Linked DNA regions of Homo sapiens: all the other regions are linked to region 1. The links are contacts of gene promoters, found by promoter capture Hi-C in blood cells and fetal thymus (Javierre and others, 2016). All regions are on one chromosome and are shown on one strand. The core of a region is centred on a gene start or on the middle of the fragment in contact, and the rest is flanking DNA. Distances in the headings are between cores, read along the strand shown. Region 1 holds the start of LINC01555 (long intergenic non-protein coding RNA 1555). Region 2 holds the start of LPAR3 (lysophosphatidic acid receptor 3). Region 3 has its middle 16 kb from the start of PRKACB.

Region 1 (4,233 bases), core at 1,489-3,988:
CGTGATTCACCCACCTCGGCCTCCCAAAGTGCTGGGATTACAGGCGTGAGCCACCATGCCCAGCCCTGATGAAATTTTTTAATGCTGTGCACCTAACTCCATTTTCCCCATAGGTCTTGTGATTTTTACTGTAATTCTGCAAAACATGGTTTTTAGGGATATATGTATTTGTGTTAAAGCAGAGCTGATGAAAAAGATCACCTTTTGTCCCTCCACTTAACATATGCTGACTGCTGATAGCCTCTCAAAATTCCATGCCAGCTTTCCTGATTCTATACATCTGTAACATTATTATTTGAGGGACAGAAACTTTAAAAATTAAAAACAACCATCAAAAATACATCAAGCCCTTGCTGTGGCAGGCACCATACTAAGCCTTAATAAGCCATTTCTTTGACTTTTCCCAACAACTCTCTGTGCAGAAGCTACTGTTATACTCACTTTATAGATGAGAAAACTGATGCAAAGAAAGGTAAACTTGCCCAGCGCCACATAGCTAACACATGGTGAAGAGGACATGTGAACACCAGGAATCATTTTGTAGCATATTTTCTACTGAATCTGATGAACTTGCAAGTGCCTGATTGCATGCCGCTGACTAGGGGTGTTGCCCGACAGGTCTGGACGGACTGAGCTTGAGAAATGATCAACATGGCCTTTGGCTAGAGATTTACTGCATCCATCCTTGGAAAAGGAAAAGAAAAGAAATGGCCAGTGAAAAGTTCAAATTCTTACTTTGTGGATATAACATGTCCTAGTTGCCACAAGATTACCATGTTTTTCAGCCATGCCCATGAAACCATCTTTGCAAAAATCATAACAATTAAAAAACAATGACAGTGAAAGGGATCTATCTGATCTAACCAACTCCCATCTTGCCTTGAACCTCCGGACTGCCTTAGTCATTCCTGGGCTTGGGCCAAGCTAACTTTGGGAGAAATTTATAGTTTAAATGATAACAGCCCTTCCCCAAAACTAAACCACCTTTGTAAAGCAAATGAAAGACCACCAGGCTAGGTGGATGAGAGGAGCACGAACTCTGCTAAGGGGTAGACCTAAACAATTACAAGCCATTATTCTGGAGGTCACAAGATTTGCAACTTCCCCCAATTACTCCTGCAGATAACATCACTATTGTAGAACCTAAGATTGGTCTTCTGAGATGTCTTTTCAGGCTTTTGTATTTCTGACTACCATGGCTCCACTTGGACCTGCCAACCAGTCCTGTGGCCCCACCAAGAAGCAAATTCTGCACACCCCTCTGATTGCACCCCCAACCAATCAGCAGCACCCATTCCCTTGCCTGCCAAACCATCCTTGAAAAACCCTAGCCTCCAAATTTTCAGGGATGCTGATTTGAGTAAAAATAAGACTCCAGTATCCTGTTCAGCTGCCTCTGTGTGAATTAAACTCTTTCTGTGTTGCAGTGCCTCTGTCTTGATAAATTGGTTCTATATAGGCAGTGGGCAAAATGAACCCATTTGGCAGTTACACTCAGACAGTGGATCTTTGTGTAGGTTCTTCAACAGTGTTGTGCCAGCCTACAGGATGAAACACCAAGCTCACAGAAGAGTGTTCATTTAAAAGAAAGCAACACTAATGATCCACACAACATCCTGAATTTGTTATGTCCCAGAAAGGCTTATCATAAGTTCAGTAATTCTGGTTCATCTACCAAGATAAGTAAGTGTGTTTGATTTTGTAAGGTATGCAGCAGTGATCTCCTATTTTGGTGTTTTTCAATACAATTTTGGTTATGTGCAAATAAAAAATTGATGAAATTTTATTTTCCTTCAATATCAACTTAAATGGTTCTTACATCTATAAAGCTTTTTCTGACTCTGTGGGGAGGCAGTCACAACTCTGCTCTCAGAATTGAACTTTCTCCCTTTTATTCATTCAGCAAATGTTTATTGAGTACTTATTAGGATTGCTATGCTAGGTGCTGGGATTCTAACATGGAAGGTGACTTGGCCATTGCCCTCAGAAACTAACAAACTACTGCGGCAAACAAGCCAATGGGCCACTTAAGGCACCTGAGTAAGTGCTCCAATAAAGGTTTTGGAGGGCTCTGAGGCAGGGAAGAGGGGGAGAAGCATGTTTAGCCTGCGGAATAGGAGGTCAGAGAGGATGCTTGAGTTAAGTATTGAAGAGGGAACAGAACATACAAGATCAGAGGTATGAAACCAAATGACCTCCAGGGAAATTACAAATAGCTTTGTAAGAACAAAGTGGTGTGGGAGAACAGTGGGAGGGGTAGAGAGGAGCCAGGTTAAAAGGGTCTCAGATTCAAGAAGTTTTGAACTTACCCTGAAGGCTTAGTGATGTGCTTGGTCAAGCACAACTGTGACCCAGAGTGTTCCCTCTCTCTCCTTGTCATAGCATTGTGAGTATACCTCTATTAAAGCATTTATTACAAATGCTTTAACTGCATATCCTTCTGTCATAGCATTTATCACAATTCTAATTCCATATGGAGAACTGCTGAAAAGAAAGCAAAGTGGAGATGATACCAGGTTGCAGTAATCCAAGCAAGAAGTGATTGAGAGGAATGCATGTTCCTACAGGTAGACTCTGATTGGATGTCGGTGTTAAGTAAAACAATCTCTGGCTCAGATAGCGGTGGATGAAAGGGCTTACAGAAGAACAGCTTTAGGGGATTGAGCAGGAAATAGTCTAGTCAGCAGACCTGGGTTGCCTGTGTGTTAACCCAGCAAAGGTCTGTCTTCAGGACTGGAAAATGACCTCTGAGTCTTACACATTCTGCCTGCTAAGAGTGATTTTGCATGCCTGAGGCCTCGGGCCATGCTGTACCGGTGTGACTAGGTAAGTTTATCCTAACAATGTGATTTATGGTGAATGCCTTTTTTGCCTGTGGGCTGGAGTCTGAGTAGCTGAGATCAGTCACCTGGGTAGGCACTGCATACCTACCTGATGACCCCCAATAAAAACAATAAAAATCCTGAGCACCAAGTCTTGGGTGAACTTCTGTGGCAACACTTCACATGTATTGTCACATATTGCTGTGACTCCACTGGGAGAGGATACCTGGAAGTTTGTGCTTGCTTTTTCCAAGACTTTGCTCAGGTGCCTGCCCCTTTGCTGATTTTAATCTGTAACCTTTTGCGGTAATAAATCATGACCATAAGTATAACAGCTTTTCTGAGTCCTGTGAGTCTTTCTAGTTCATGTGAGTTCATCAAGCTTAAGGGTGATCTTAGGGACCCCTGACACAGGGATAATGAATTGTTCTGGACATATTGAATTTAAGGGTCTCTGAGCCATTCAAGTTCGTGTGGATGAACTTGGGTTTTTATTAGGGTTCCTCAGGTAGGTATGCAGTGCCTACCCATGTGAATGCCTACTGTTGGCAATTGGATATATAAGTTTGGAGCTCAACAGAGAGGTCTGGGATAGATATTGAGATCTGAGAGCCAATACATAAGTGGCTGTTGAAGCTAGGGGCATACATGAGGTCACAAAAAAGAGACAGATGGTAGAATGAGAAGCAGAAGGTAGAGACTTGGGTATCACTGGCATTCAAAAATCAAATGTGCAGGTATGGTGGCACATGCATATAGTCCCAGCTACTTGGGAAACTGAGGCAGAAAGTTTGCTTGAGCCCAGGAGTTCAAGGCAGCAGTGAGCTATGATCACACCACTGCACTCCAGCCTGGCCAACAGAGTGAGACCCTGTCTCTACTTCAGAAAGAAAAAAGAGAAAAGAAAAAGAAAAAAGAAAAGGCAAATATGGAAGAAAAGGCTCTTTTATGGAGTGAAGAGACAGAGAGTTGAGAGTCAATATCAAGAAGATATCAAGGCCAGGCATGGTGGTTCTTGTCTGTAATCCCAGCACTTTGGGAGGCGGAGGCAGGTGGATTGCTTGAGCCCAGGAGTTTGAGACAAGCCTGGGCAACATAGTGAAACCCTCCCTCTATAAAAAATACAAAAATTAACTAGGCATGGTGGTGTGCTTGTAGTCCCAGTTACTCAGAAGGCTGAAGCGGGGATCACTTGAGCCCAGGAGGTCAGGTTGACGCTGCAGTGCAGTGGTGATAGCACCGCTGCACTCCAGCCTGGGTGACAGAGCAAGACCCTGTCTCAAAAAAAAAAAAAAAAAAGCCACCCTTAGGAAGGAGAGAATTCCAAGGAAGTTCAAATGTTATAAAGAAAACAATATATAGAAAAACGCTGGCAGTATTGTGGTCATTAGTAACTTTAAGGAGGGTTCCT
Region 2 (4,087 bases), core at 726-3,225, 260 kb before region 1:
TTAGTTGTCGTTTGCCTCGTCTTTTCTTTTCCTGCTTCTCCCCATAGGTGTTTGTTTGTTTGTTTGTTTATCACTGCTTTTCCTCTCTGAATCTGTTTCTCTGTAACACCTTCTGGCCTTCCCCTCACATCTGACCCATCTAGCTGTTAAAAACCATCTATCTGGAAAGTCTCTTTCCTTTTGCAACACAGCTCCCCATGCCCTCTTCACTTTCCTCCTTTTTTAAGGATTCAGATTCAACTCTGTGGGATCCCTGTTCTGCTTTGCAATTACCTCGAGTTCAGGAAGTTCCCAAGGTACAACATAATGCAACATAATGTGTTTCCCAAGTGCCTTTGTTAGTAAGTTGTTTGGATTCAGAACAGATTTTCCCAGCAAAAGAAGGCTCTTAGTGGTGTTTACAGTCTAGCCTGCAACATCTTACTCAACATACTACACCTTTGTTGCGTCAAGTATTCAGTAAATGCTGGTGGTTGAGTATTTCTGTGTTTACCAGGTTGCCCTTCAGCACCGTGATGTTTGAGCTGAGCTGTTCTCTCCCTTGACAGAGAGAGCTCTTTCCGACCCCCGCCCCTCCGAGACGGAGTCTTGCTCTGTCGCCCAGGCTGGAGTGCAGTGGCGCGATCTCGGCTCACTGCAACCTCCGCCTCCCAGGTTCAAACGATTCTCCTGCCTCAGCCTCCAGAGTAGCTGGGATTACAGGTGCGTGCCACCACGCCCGGCTTTTTGTATTTTTAGTAGAGACGGGTTTTCACCATGTTTGCCACCGAGCTTTTTTATCATATGCAAAGCTTCTGCTTGTAAAAGTAAACACATGATCTTTCTTTAGCCCTAGCTTCGCAAGTTGTACTTCTCTCTACACAGTTCAACTGCAAGACACCGCAATAATTTTCTGAACACTTAGATGAAACAATAATTTTCACATGCTGATGAAAACTTAGCTGTAGCCCCGGGGAGGTTTGAGGCACATTAGGCTATTATGGTCTATAGGATAAGACCCACGGAGTAAGGGACGTAACCTTATTAAAACATCCTCTGCAGAGAAAACAGAATCTCTTTGATGGTAGGGGACAGATTATCTAACAGGTTGTTTGCAAGGATGAGGTTCCTAGCTGGCACACAGAAGGGCGCAGTATTAATGGTGAATGCAAGATGAATGAATGAACGGATGGATGGATGGCAAAGGGTCACAGGAAGACATCTGGGCACACAACTCTCATTGCTTCCTAAGGGCCTGAAGTCTGAGTGGGAAGGACTTCACCTCACAGTATTTCCTTTTTGTAAGGTCACCAGGAAAGCACAACTTTGAACATTTCTGTGACTTCGTTATTGCTTTGCAGAATTCAGAGAGAACAATGCCTTCATGACATTTGTTTTACTTTGCATCTTTCTTCTTTACTAAAGGTGGGTCAGTGGAGGTTTTATATTTCAGCTTTGAAAAACAAAGTATCCAGGACTATTTGCCCCAGGAGGCCAAGAAACCTCTTACAAGAACCTTAAATATTGTTGGTTGCCTCTGGGGGCTGTCCGCACCCTCGGGTAGCTTTGGGGTTGAGGTTTCCAGCGTTAGGTCGGGCTTGGAGTAGAGCCTGCCTCCCACGGGGGTGGTGGGTGTGGGCTGCACTTCCCGCAGCCACTTCAAACAAATCTCTGAGGACAGAGGGGCAGAGGGACTGCGTTCTAATACGGAGCTCCGAGGTATGGCTCCGTGAGGCTTGTGGGTACTAGCGGTCCTTTAGTGGGCGCTTTTCCCTCTCGGGGCCGGCCGACCACCCACCTGGGGACGATCCCAGGCAGGAACGCGTCTGCAAGAGCGCTGCCCTCCCGCGGCTCGCACGGGCCCCTTTGAGCGCAGCTCGCGGCCTTGCAGGTTGGGGACGCTCTCCAGTGGGAACGTCGAACGCACCCGGCGGGGCGGGGCGGGGCAGGGAGGGGCCGCTGTCCCTAGGTCCCTCCCTCGCACCGCCAAACTTTCCTTTGGCTCTGGACGCGTCGCAGGGGTCGCTGGAGAGGAGGCGCTCCGCCCGCCCGCCGCGTCCTCCGCTGCTTCTCCGCGCCCGGCTGGAGCCCGGCGCCCGGTCGCCCCGTCGCGCTCGACCCCGAGGGCATGCGGCAGCCGCAGGGGCCCCCGCTCCCGGGCTCGGCGGCGCGGGTGAACGTGAGCGGTGAGTGAGGGTCCGGGCGCAGGGAGGGTACCCCGAGCCGCAGTCACCAGGGCGTGCGTCGTGGGGAGGCCGGGGCGCAGCGGCGCCTGCAGGGCTCTAGCCTGCGGCTTTTCGGGGTTGCCTGGCGTGCAAGCCTGGGCTCCAGACCCACTCCAAACCCCGGGACAAGACTCTCCCGGCGGGTGTATGGCACAACTTGCTCTTTTCCCACCTTTTTCCCCGCTAGGAGCAAAAAGCAATCTAGATGCAAAATCGGCGTTGCGTCCGCTGCTGAGGGCTGGCGGGCTGGGCGCAGAGGCCAGGAGAGCGCCGCACGGGTTGCGTCTGCCTTTGCACACGTGGTTCTTTCCAAACTCAGTCTCATTGCCATCGATGGTGATTAGGAAACTGGGGTTCTCTCGTGAAGCCTAGGGATATAACATTTTTCAGCCTCCAGTTACATCTGGTACTGTGCTGTGTCCGCTGGGGAACAGCTTGAACCATGTGCAGGCTTCTAGAGATTCGGGAACTAGTAACTAGCAACACTGTCGGGGTTGTTTGTTCAGGGTATGCCCCCTCACCACCACGAGACAAAAGTGCTTTTGTTCTGTAGCAGAGTTACTTTATTGCTTTCCCTCAACAAGTTGCAGCTACACAAAATTGCTTAGAAATTCCGCACGCATGTAATTTGAGGAGTGACTGTGAATATTGGAAACAATTTAGTCTTATTAAGGTAATCATTAAAATGGCCCTGAAAAGCATTTGTAGGTTAGTTTTTATTTATTTATTTATTTATTTATTTATTTATTTATTTATTTATTTTTGAGACACAGTCTCGCACTATCATCCGGGCTGGAGTGCAGTGGCGCGATCTCGGCTCACTGCAACCTCCGCCTCCCAGGTTCGAGCGATTCTCCTGCCTCAGCCTCCCTAGTAGCTGGGATTGCAGGCGCCCACCACCACGCTAGGCTAATTTTTTGTATTTTTAGTAGAGACGGGGTTCCACTGTGTTGGCCAGGCTGATCTCGAACGCTTGACCTCGTGATCCACCCTCCTCAGCATCCCAAAGTGCTGGGATTACAGGTGTGAGCCACTGCGCCCGGCTAGGTCAGTTTTTTAAACTGAGTAATTTCCACGAAATGTTTCCCCCGTAATTTGTTATTGTCATTACAACGCTTTTCTTCCTCCTTTTCCTCCGAAAGTAGCATTACCTGGTCTTGAGATGCCGTTTAGAAATAAAGGGCTTTCTCACGGTTCCAACTTAGTCTGTATCAGAGAATAAAGTAAATGTCAATTACAGACAGACAATCAATCTCCTCTTTACAAATTCCATGTACCGCACAACGTTTCATTAATGCATGGACTTTTGTATCGCTGAGAAGAGTTGCTGGATTTTCCATTGATCCATCAACAGTTGCTAACCCTGCTTTCCATGGGCAGTGGATCTGATATTTAGTGGCCTGAGTCCAGTAAACAGAGTTTTCCTCTTTTTGGGACAGAAGTGATACGGTTAGAAACACACACCTTGGCTCTGTTAACCCCAGGCTTGTCTAAACAAACTGGACTATACTAAAAAGACGAGCGAGCAAACCCTGCCAGTCAGAGTTGTGTACTTGAGATAAGCTTCCAGAGTTGTCTCTTGTGCCTTGAGACAGCAAGGAACTAGTTATCCTGTGGAGATCTGGACGTCTAACTATTTGGACAACACTTACATTGATTGTCACTATCATATAACTAAGAAAATAGGTCATTTTGGCAAAAATTTTTTCTTTGTCTTTAGAATTTGAAACTTTGAGGTTTTGATTTAATTACATATGACACTCCTCTTGTCTAAACCTTTCAATTGCATTTATCAACTACCACTCTTTTTTTTTTTATCAGATCAGACCTATTTTAGATATCTTGCTGTTCTGCAAGATATTTGTTAGAACAGGCCTGCATAT
Region 3 (4,473 bases), core at 62-2,561, 510 kb after region 1:
AAACAAATGGAATTTCATTGATTTTTTTCCTTGTCACCAGGGATTTCCTTACAGGGTCTCTCATTAGAGAAAGAGAGTTTCTCTTTTTTTTTTTTTTTTTTTTTTTTTGAGACGGAGTCTCGCTCTGTTGCCTAGGCTGGAGTGCAATGGCACGATCTTGGCTCACTGCAAGCTCCGCCTCCCAGGTTCATGCCATCAGCCTCCCCAGCAGCTGGGACTACAGGTGCCCGCCACCACACCCAGCTAATTGTTTGTATTTTTAGTAGAGATGGGGTTTCACCCTGTTAGCCAGGATGGTCTCCATCTCCTGACCTCGTGATCTGCCTGCCTGGGCCTCCCAAAGTGCTGGGATTACAGGCGTGAGCCACAGCATTTTCTGTCTGAATCCACTGTACAGTTCTGGAATTCTGACTGCCTTGAGTCTAAGCTGGAGGATGTAGGAAGAAATTGCTAAAAGCAGGAAATTCACTACTGTATTTGTCTCTTTTCAAGTTTTGATTTCCCTTTCCAATCTTCCTGCTATATTTACTTTTCAAAGTCTTTCTACAGCTACTTTATGTATTCTGTTCAGAATCTTTTTTAGGCATAATCAGTGGGAGGAATAGAGTGATGTGCATTTACTTACTCCATCTTAATTGGAACTAGAAGCTAATCTCATCACTTCTGATTTTAATAATTTAATAATAGATTTAGAAATAAAAAATGTAAAAGATAAAAGTTTTACTTTCAACATGCTTCACCTTAATCTCAGTGTGAAATTGACATACATTTTTCTGAGTAAATCCACAGTAAAGTTGTAGTACTTTTGTCACAGTACTTTATGAGACAAAAAGTTACATGCATACATTTCTTTAAAAAATGTAATTTTTATACAAAATTTCATGATTACTACTATCAAGTATGGTGTCATTATTAATATGAAATTGATTCACTCTTGGCAAACTGATATATTTTCAAATACATAAACAAATTTTCACAATTACACTCCATGTTTTTTATCCTTGAACTCACCAGAATACCTAAAATTATAATAGTAATATATATCTCAAAGTATAGTAAACTAAAAAAGTTTATAATTGTGCTGAATATTAAGCAGTAAGTTAATACAATATGCAAAAACAATGATCTTACTATTCAACATAAAAAGAGATATGGAAATTTATTTAATCTCACAATTCTAATGTAAGAATATTCAATTGCTCAAAACATATGCTGTACATTGAAAGGTAAGTATTCTCTAATTTTTCTTCCAGGAATTCAAATTGCTTTTATTCATATGTTTGAGTCTAGGGTACACTGTCCAATATTATAGTCACTAGTGACACATGGTTACGTAAATTAAAATTAAATAAAATTAAAAATTTAGTTCCTCAGTCACATGAGCCATGATTTCAAGTGCTCAACAGCCACATGTAGCTAAATGGCTACATGTGTAGACAGTGCCAACATCAAACATTTCCATAATCACAGAAAATTACATGGGCAAAACTGGGCAATAGGAACACACATAATGCTGACAGATATGCCACTTTTTAAACTAATCAGTTACCTCTATAATCTTTGGTTTCCTCTTCTGCTGAACGAGATCATTAATAACTTCCCTGACTATATCACTAGTTTTGTGTATGGCTCAACTAAGAGAATATACATAAAATTTCTTTGTAAACTGTATTACATTAATACATCTGATTAATAAATATATGACTATTATTTATTTAAATTAAAGAAAATCAAAGTACACTTCAATATCATATTTTTTCAAATCGTTTTTTAAAAGTCTAAACACTGGAAGCATGCAAACAACCAAACTGTTCAAACAAGATTTTTAAAAACTATTCTGTTATAACATATGAGCATGAAAATCGTGGGTATGCCATAACAATCAATTTCTGCAATTTGGACAGAATGCTATAGACCCAAATGAACAATTCCAGTGAAATCAAGACAATATTGTTCTTCAACATGAAAGCTGTCAGTTCTATGTGTCCTATACTGTCTAAAAATCTTGTATGCTAAAACATCTTTTTTTTTTAATTTTGCTTTTTTGCAGCTAAGGTACATACATTAAAGAAATAATTCTAACCAACATGGTGGAACCCAGTCTCCACTAAAAAGACAAAAATTAGCTGGGCGTGGTGGTGGGCGCCTGTAATTCCAGCTACTCAGGAAGCTGAGGCAGGAGAATTGCTTGGACCTGGGAGGTGAAGGTTGCAGTGAGCCGAGATCACACCATTGCACTCCAGCCTGGGTGACAAGAGTGAAACTCTGTCTCAAAAAAAAAAAAAAAAAAGAAAAAAAAAGAAAAGAAATAATTCTAACAAAGAATAGACTGGAATCTGAGGAATCCTGAGCAAAGCCTCTTTATTTTTTACACAATGTAAAATTTGGCAAATTGGCTTACTTTAAACAAAAAATTCCCACTAAGTACATATTTATCCTTAAAATAATTTTATGATTTAAGTATAGGAAATATTATATTTTCTTCAAAACATAAAATATATTCACTAGAAGTAAAATAAAGTAGTAATCAAGTTAGGAAAACAGTAAATATAGTCAATTGAATGTGTTAGCAAAATAACATTTCAAAAGTCAGAGTCCAACAGAAAATAAGAACTAAATTTATTGTCTATAGCTATCAAATATAAGAAAAAGAAAAAAAACCCGCAAAATTCATATTTATCTCACACAGTAAAAATAGCTCAGTAATGTGCCAGGAATAATTAGACTTTTATGGCAGATGATTAATTGTTTTGAACTCATGCTGTTTACCTAATTAAACTATTAGTAATACCAGCAGGTAAATTAACTTCATACTTCTTTTCTGGAAAGATAGATTTTTAATACTGATACAGTTGAATATCCCTCCTGCAGAGCTGAATACACAAGCATTTTTGTTTTCAATTTTTTTTCTTTCCAACAAAGAAATGCTTTAGCTCAATGTCGTATAGGTAATTTTAAGGAGCAGGGGAAAATTAGGATGCTTATTAATGATAAGCTTAAATTACATACAGCTATTTTAAGATTTTATTTGATAGATTACTATTTTGTAATTGTTCAACTTAGCAGATAATTCTACTCTTTGGTCTTCCTCCCTATTTATCTTCATCTCATGTACAAATGTACATTTTCTATAATGTGTTTCAGGTAACATACACAGCTGTCAAGACCTGAAGTACAAAGAAAAGAGGAACTTACAGAAAGATGGAAGAAGAGTATGCCATGCAGATGAAGCTGGGAATTAAAGACCCAGATAGAGGAATAAGGCAAAAAGAGTATGACTACTAGGAAGAGAATGGATTCAGGAATCTTCTGTGTAGGTGGAAGGTAAGAATGGAAACATGAAAAATAGTTAAGGACTACTGCAAAAGTCCAGGCAAGAGATGATGGATACCTGAACTGAGGTTGTGGTGGGAAAGAAAAACAGACAGATTTCATATATATTTTTGAAAAACAAGGAGATTTGATGATTCATTGAACCCAGAAAATTAATAAAAGTAATAAAAGATAATTCCTACTTTTTTTGGCTTGAGCATGTGAATAAGTAGTGATGCCAGTTATTATTAAGCTGGGGAAGGGTGAGGAAGTGATATAGACAGGAGGCGGGGAAATACTGGGTAGAAGAGGGCAGACCCCAACGAGGGCCACACTCTCAAGCCTGGACCTGCAGTCCAAAGTGAGAACATGCATTCCTGTTTTCCTGCCCAAATTTGCCTTTTCCAAAACCATGTTGGCTGTCCCCACCTCCCCATCCTGTACCCATAAAAACCCCAAGCCCCACCAGCAGAGTGGCAGAGTGGCAGAGGAGAGAAGAGAGGCAGCAGAAGGACATCAAAGAGAAGCAGCTTGACTTCAGAGGAACAGCTTGACAGCAGGACTTCGCAGAAGAGTTCCACAGGGGACGGCTGAACTCCAGGAGAAGACCACCTTCCCACTCCATCCGCTTTCCAGCTCCCCATCCTGCCAAGAGCCACTTCTACTGCTCAGTAAAATCCTCCACATTCACCACCCTTCAATTCATTCATATGACCTTATTCTTCCTGGATGCCAGACAAGTACTCGGGTACCAAGAGGGCGGGTGCAAAAGGCTGTCACCCTGACCCTCCACTGATCTGTTAAACACTTAAGTTGTCTGTGGATGGCAAAGCTAAATGAGCACACTGTAACACATGCCCTCTAGGACTCCGGAGGTCACAGGTTCCCCTCCCCTCCCCCCCACCCCCCAGGAAGCTTCCACTGGACTGCACAGGATTCTACTCCTGCGGATGCCCAGAAGCACTTGTCCCAGTCCCTGTACCCACTCACCTGCATGCTCCCCGTCCCGTGAGGGGATGAGAGCTGCGAGCTGAGTAAACAAGTCAATCCCTTTGTGAGTCCCGCGAAGGGGTCAAGGGAACTATCCCATTTCTGAAGGAAGGGGCTGGAGGGGTGTTGTAATAAAAAATTCTATTGGACATATTAAATTTGAGATGCTTA

What was found. Contacts are between HindIII fragments. The CHiCAGO score rates a contact against its expected background, and 5 or more counts as called.
Region 2: a contact is called between the fragment with the promoter of LPAR3 here and the fragment with the promoter of LINC01555 in region 1, in 9 of 17 cell types (activated CD4 T cells, naive CD8 T cells, total CD8 T cells and 6 more). The highest score is 7.7, in activated CD4 T cells.
Region 3: a fragment that was not itself captured here is called in contact with the fragment with the promoter of LINC01555 in region 1 in 3 of 17 cell types (erythroblasts, M0 macrophages and M2 macrophages); the score reaches 7.8 in erythroblasts.

Annotation. Positions count from the first base shown.
Region 1 is chr1:84,633,525-84,637,757 of GRCh38, reverse strand. It overlaps LINC01555 (long intergenic non-protein coding RNA 1555), which reads left to right and starts at 2,738. Exons shown (of 3, transcript NR_027379.1): 1 at 2,738-2,826. LOC124904206 (a long non-coding RNA gene) reads right to left here. Exons shown (of 5, transcript XR_007066196.1): 4 at 2,310-2,484; 5 at 599-684. The HindIII fragment of the contact is 1,375 bases long and covers 1,832-3,206 here.
Region 2 is chr1:84,891,094-84,895,180 of GRCh38, reverse strand. It overlaps LPAR3 (lysophosphatidic acid receptor 3), which reads left to right and starts at 1,975. Exons shown (of 3, transcript NM_012152.3): 1 at 1,975-2,165. The HindIII fragment of the contact is 2,976 bases long and covers 794-3,769 here.
Region 3 is chr1:84,125,825-84,130,297 of GRCh38, reverse strand. It overlaps a transcript of PRKACB not described here. Among named protein-coding and RNA genes, the nearest start is that of PRKACB, 16 kb to the left of the region's middle. The HindIII fragment of the contact is 3,373 bases long and covers 1-2,997 here.